Regions from separate parts of the Homo sapiens genome. Here region 1 is linked to region 2. Evidence: promoter capture Hi-C in human tissues and cell types (Jung and others, 2019). All regions are on one chromosome and are shown on one strand. The core of a region is centred on a gene start or on the middle of the fragment in contact, and the rest is flanking DNA. Distances in the headings are between cores, read along the strand shown.

Region 1 (2,700 bases), core at 61-2,560, 1.6 Mb before region 2:
CTTGTGCTCTGGGACTGGTCCCTAACACTTTCCTCTTGCTGGCTCTGCCACCTCTCCTCTTAGCTGGGGCCTCCCTTTTCAGGATGGGGATTAAAAGTCAGAACCTCCATTACCTCTACTGACCTTTGGAAATGGAGCTTTTCTTCAGACCTCAAGACATTGCCTCCTTTTACTTTCCTAGCCTTGTCTTCCTCCTGAGGAAAGTGTTCTCAGAGAAAGTCCCCTTTCACATCTGTCCATTGAATTTAGCTAACATTTAGGGACAGCCTGCCAAGGGGTGGACTCTCTAGCTGGTACAAAAATGAGGCAAACACAGTTTCTGTTCTGTCCGGCCCTTCAGAGAGTCCCTGTCTTGTGGGATGCATAGATACCTGCATAGCACCTGGCAATGTACCTGACACATAGCAAGCCCTCACTAAGTATTTGTCAAATGAACTGAGTGAGTGGTTGACTGCACAGCAACTTCGATGGAGAGCAGTCTATGGTAAATGCTGTAGGAGAGAAAAGGACAAAATGTAAGGGAAGATCGAAGTGACAGACATTGCCTGTGCTTGGAGGCACCAAGAAAGACTTCATCAGGGGCAATAGAGAGGATTAGAGCTGCAGGCCAGGGGTTCCGTAGAGCTAGATGGGGTGAGACAAACTGGGATTGTCATACTAGGGCTCCCCGAGAAGGGAAAATCTTTCCTGGACCTTTTCTAAACAGGATAGTCATGTATAGTTTTCTCTAAATACAGGGAGTATAATGATAGGAACCTAGGCATAGTAAGGGAGGGTGCACTCAACAAGATTATTGGACTGGAGAAGCACTCCACTGCCAGCTCTTCACAAGAGGGTCTCCTTCCCTGGCAGACTGTGCAGCCTGATAATTGCATTTGACAAGGTTACAGTCCTCTGATCCTTATCTTTTTTTTTTTTTTTCTTAAGAGACAGTGTCTCACTCTGTTACCAAGGCTGCTGCAGTGCAGTGTTGTGATCCTAGCTCACTGCAGCCCTGAACTCCTGGGCTCAAGCAATCCTCCCACCTCAGCCTCCCAAGTAGCTGGGACTGCAGGCGTGCACCACTGTGCCCGGCTAATTTTTTTTCTGTACAGATAGGATCTTGCCTAGGCTCATCTCCAACTCCTGGCTTCAAGTGAATCTCCTTCCTTGGCCTTCCAAAGTGTTGGGATTACAGGCATGAGCCATCACACCCAGTTCTTATCTTTAACTTGGACTTGATGTATCATGTTTTCCTCCAGTGTATCTTGGATAACCCCATATTGAATATATTTCTTTCCAAGAGTGAATATGGTGCAGTTCCCTAAAGAGAAAAAGCCTTTCTAGGTTGCGTTCTCTAAGGCACCAAGGAGAGAAAGAACTAAAATTGTAATCAGGACACTTTAAAGGGACCACCATTTTTGGGTCTGACATGGAACATTTATTTTGAATTTCTAGATATTTAGTGCTCAATTCATTTGCAATAATGATAACTGTCTGTTATGGACCAAATTGTTTCTTCCCCACTCCCAAATTCATATGTTGAGGCCCTAATCCCTAGTACCTTAGAACGTGACTGTATTTGGAGATAGGGGTTTTAAAGAGGTCATTAAGGCTAAATGAAGTCATATGGTTGAGCTGTAATCCAATGACTAGTGTCCTACAAGAAGAGGAAAAGACACCAGAGGTGCACATGTACAGAGAGAAGGCCGTGTGAGCACGTAGCGAGAAGGCAGCCATCCACAAGCCAAGGAGAGAGACCTCAAGAGAAACCAAACCTGCCAATACCTTGCTTTTGCACTTCCAGCCTCCAGAACTGTGGGAAAATAAATTTCTGTTGTCTAAGCCACCCAATTTGTGGTATTTTGCAGACTAACACACTGTCTTTTTCTGAGGGCCTCCTATGAACCTGGCACTGTGCTAAGTATTTTGTCTCACTGAAGCTTTTCAATGACTGTAAGATAGTTATCATTGTGTTCCCTTCTCAGAATAGGACACTGATGCTCAAGGCCACAGCTTTAGCACGCAGCAAACTCAGATTCAAATGCACATCTGTTTGGCTCAGGAGGTTATGCACTTGGCATCCCACCAACCCACATTTATTAATTACTTGCCATGAGAAAAGTACTAGGCTATGATAATTGCTGACATATGAGAATCTGAATCCTTTCCTTATGGAACTTATGAATGATGAGAGACAGATTCACAAGACCACAAAAATAAATAAGTTTTTTAAAGCTGCATGGAAGAAAATCTCTGGAAGCAATAATTCCATGCTGTGCTGCAGTGGATCTAAGCTAAGAGGCATTCAAATGATTGTGTGGGCAATATAGGGTAGTGGTTACAAACACAGAGGGCAGGGCTAGATTCATTGGGATTGATTTCTAGTCCCAGCAGTTTTCTAGTTATGTGACCTTGAGAAAGTCGCTTATCTTCTTAACCTCAGTTACTTCATCTGTGCTATGGAGGCTAAACTGGGACTAGTAATAGAATCTTACCCATGGGGTTGTTGCAGGATTAAATGGAATACTATAAAGCACTTAGCACAATGCTTGATACACAATATGTCTTAATAAATGCACCATGATGAAAAAAAGTTTCTAATGCGTGTTCCACCCAGCACTAACAAAACTAGCCAACCTGTCTAAACATGGTTGAGTTCTTAATTTTTTAAATTAAAGCTCTTAGTGTTGTTAAATTTATGAATATCTTCACTGACCT
Region 2 (2,700 bases), core at 43-2,542:
AAGCGTCTGGTATTTGGTGTAGGGACAGCGCTTTTTCCGGGTGGAGCGAGCGTGGATCCAGTTCGCGGCGGGGTTGTCTACAAAGAGGGAGGTTTGGAGACGGGGAGAGAGGAGAGGAGGGGAGGCAGGGAGAGACCACAGGGTGGGGAAGAGAGGTCGTTAAATTAATTTCACCAAGGATGGTCGCTTTTCACAACTTGTGGGGAATTATCATAAAAAGCCTTAATGCTCGCGCTCTGTTTACCGTACTAACTGAGCGCCCAGGGTAGGTGGTTATGGGAAGCTCTTTTTATGGATGCATGTTGTTCGCCTAGGCTTGGGTAGGCGTCTAGACGTTTTTATAGGTTAGTAAAACTATCAGTTTTGCACATTCGAGCCTTACAGGTTTCAGCAATAAATCAGGGGGCAATTTCTTTTGCACTTACTTGGGTCAAGTTGCTGCTGCTGCGGCTGCGAATGCTGCTTCTCCTCCTCCTTCAGCGAACAGCCTGGGATCGGGTGGTCGCTGCAAGCTGAGGGCTCCGACGAGCCGCCCGTCCCAGTCGCGGCCCCGATCCCTGCCCCAGGCCCGGTTCCCCCCGTCGCCGCTGCCGCCTTCTCCTGCAGGAACGAGTTGCACGAGAACTCGGGGCCGCTGCTCCCCTGGGACTCCCGGGCCACGGAGCACTCAGTCCGTTTGGAGGAGGAGGATAAGGAAGTGGAGGAGGAGGAGGTGGTGGAGGCGGCCGTGGCGGGGGCCGGGGCCGCTCGGGTTTCAGGCTTAATCCCGTAGTGGCGCCCGTTGGCTGGGCCGCTGGGGCCAGGGCTGGGACCGCGGCCCGGACCGCCGCCTCCACCACCACCGCCACCGCCCGCACCGCCCGGGAAGCCGGGCAGCGGCTCCATCCAGGAGCGCACGTAGCGGCCGGGCTCGGAGGCAGAGGCGGCCAGGGGCGGCGGGGGAACGTACGGGTGGTAGAGGCCGCTCATCGCCGCCGCTGCCGGGGGCTGGGAGGGCACCGCGGACCACGAGGCAGAGAACACGGCCGATCTGGGGGCAAAACTACACGAGGCGAACTCGGCGGCGGTGGCGGCCGGGCCATCAGCCACACCTGCAGGCCGGCCCTGCGCGCCTGGCCCCGGCGGCCCGAAGCGCGCCGCGAACACCTCGTCGCCCTCATGGCCTATAAGCGAGTCCACGTAGTAGTTGCTGAGGGTGCCACTGGAAGACATTTTGAGGCGTCCCGCACTCCCACCCAACATTACACTGTCCGCCGCCGAGCAGCTCCCCGCCGGCGCCCGAGCCACCGACTAGTTCGCAGGCTGCAGCCTCCACCATTGGTCGCGCGGCCCACGTGATCATATTTACCAATACCGGGAGTAAATCAGTCCGCTAAACTGGGGGCTGCTGTGATTAAAAAAAAAATCATCAACATAAGCGCCGCAATTAGAGCCCGCAGGCCCAGGTCCATGTGCCCGGCTCGGCCCGGCCCGACCTGGCCTGGCCCGCCCAGCGGCTGCCAGGACCACAGACGCGACCGCATCCAGAGGAGGCGCTGGGGACTATTTGTTCGCTTCTTCTTGCAGCCCTCGGTCCCGCAGTCGGGCCCCGTCGCTGACTCTCCAGCTTCCGAGCCGCGGGCGGCGAGTCCAGGGCACACGGAGCGGCCGCGGGGGCGCCAGGCCGGTGTCGCCCGAGGCAGGCGGGCCCTCGGGGCGGCCCCTAGCGCCCGAGGGGAGCTGTTCTCCCCTCGCCTCTCTCCCTACTCACACCCACCCCTCCCCACACATCCCCACACACACGCTTGCTCACAGCTTGTCGTGTTGTTTAAAACAGGTGGAAGACCTCTGTAATGATATTATGCCTTTCAATAAAAATTTTATGAGGTGTATTTGATTATAGATTAATGTGTCCCTAATAAAACGGACGGATGGAGCAGATCGGAGGGCCCCCTCCCCCTGCCACACTCACACACGCCCGCGCGGCCACACACACCCCGACGTGAGGCTGGGCACACGCCGCGGCCCGAGGGGCGAGCCGGGGCGCGGCGGTGGAGGACACAGAGGGGCTTCTGCCTGCCCTCGGAAGGGCGGGCGGCCGGGCGAGTTGGCGCAGCACGGACAGTGGCGGCCAGGGTGCTTCGTCTTCTCCGATGATGCTGGAAAGGCCCTGGAAGAGAACACGCCACAGGGCAGAACCCAAATGCTAGAGCAGCTTGCTCCCGCCCGCCGCCTCAGCCCTGCCTCAGCGAGTCTCCCCGGGCAGGGCCGCTTCGCGCGGTTCGCACTTAAAGGCCTCGGAGGAGACTCCCAAAATGTCTAAAAAATTCGGCCGAATGGCTAGGTCCTTGGGACACTCCCTTCTGATTTTTTTCCCCCTACAGAGGTGAGGTTGAGCAGCCTTGAATCTGAGGGAAATGCCCATTGTCACTCCCAAATCCATGGTACAAAGCCTCGGAAGCCCGGCTGGGAGCCCAGACAAAAGCGGCCGGGGCGCCGGCAGCGGAGGGCATATTCCTTGCTCTACAAGTTGCCCAGCTCACCCTTGGAGGGCTCCCGGCCCACCTCCAGCCCCGAAAAGGAAGCGGGTAAATGGCTATTTATGGCCTGATTGATTACCTTTGCCAATAGCTTTCTGATTTTGTTCCAGATGGGATGCCTTTGCCTTGTAGCTCAGGCTTTCCTCGGATACATGGCCCGCTATCAACAGCTAATGGTATT

What was found. The method cuts DNA at HindIII sites, captures the fragments that hold promoters and counts their contacts. A contact is called where the count stands out against the background at its distance.
Region 1: a fragment that was not itself captured here is called in contact with the fragment with the promoter of HOXD9 in region 2 in 1 of the 25 tissues and cell types used here (dorsolateral prefrontal cortex).

Annotation. Positions count from the first base shown.
Region 1 is chr2:177,740,261-177,742,960 of GRCh38, reverse strand. The region is part of intron 10 of PDE11A (phosphodiesterase 11A); the gene reads left to right. Among named protein-coding and RNA genes, the nearest start is that of PDE11A-AS1, 68 kb to the right of the region's middle. The HindIII fragment of the contact is 3,830 bases long and covers 1-2,700 here.
Region 2 is chr2:176,121,311-176,124,010 of GRCh38, reverse strand. It overlaps HOXD9 (homeobox D9), which reads right to left and starts at 1,292. Exons shown (of 2, transcript NM_014213.4): 1 at 426-1,292; 2 at 1-77. The coding sequence starts at 1,242. The HindIII fragment of the contact is 11,890 bases long and covers 1-2,700 here.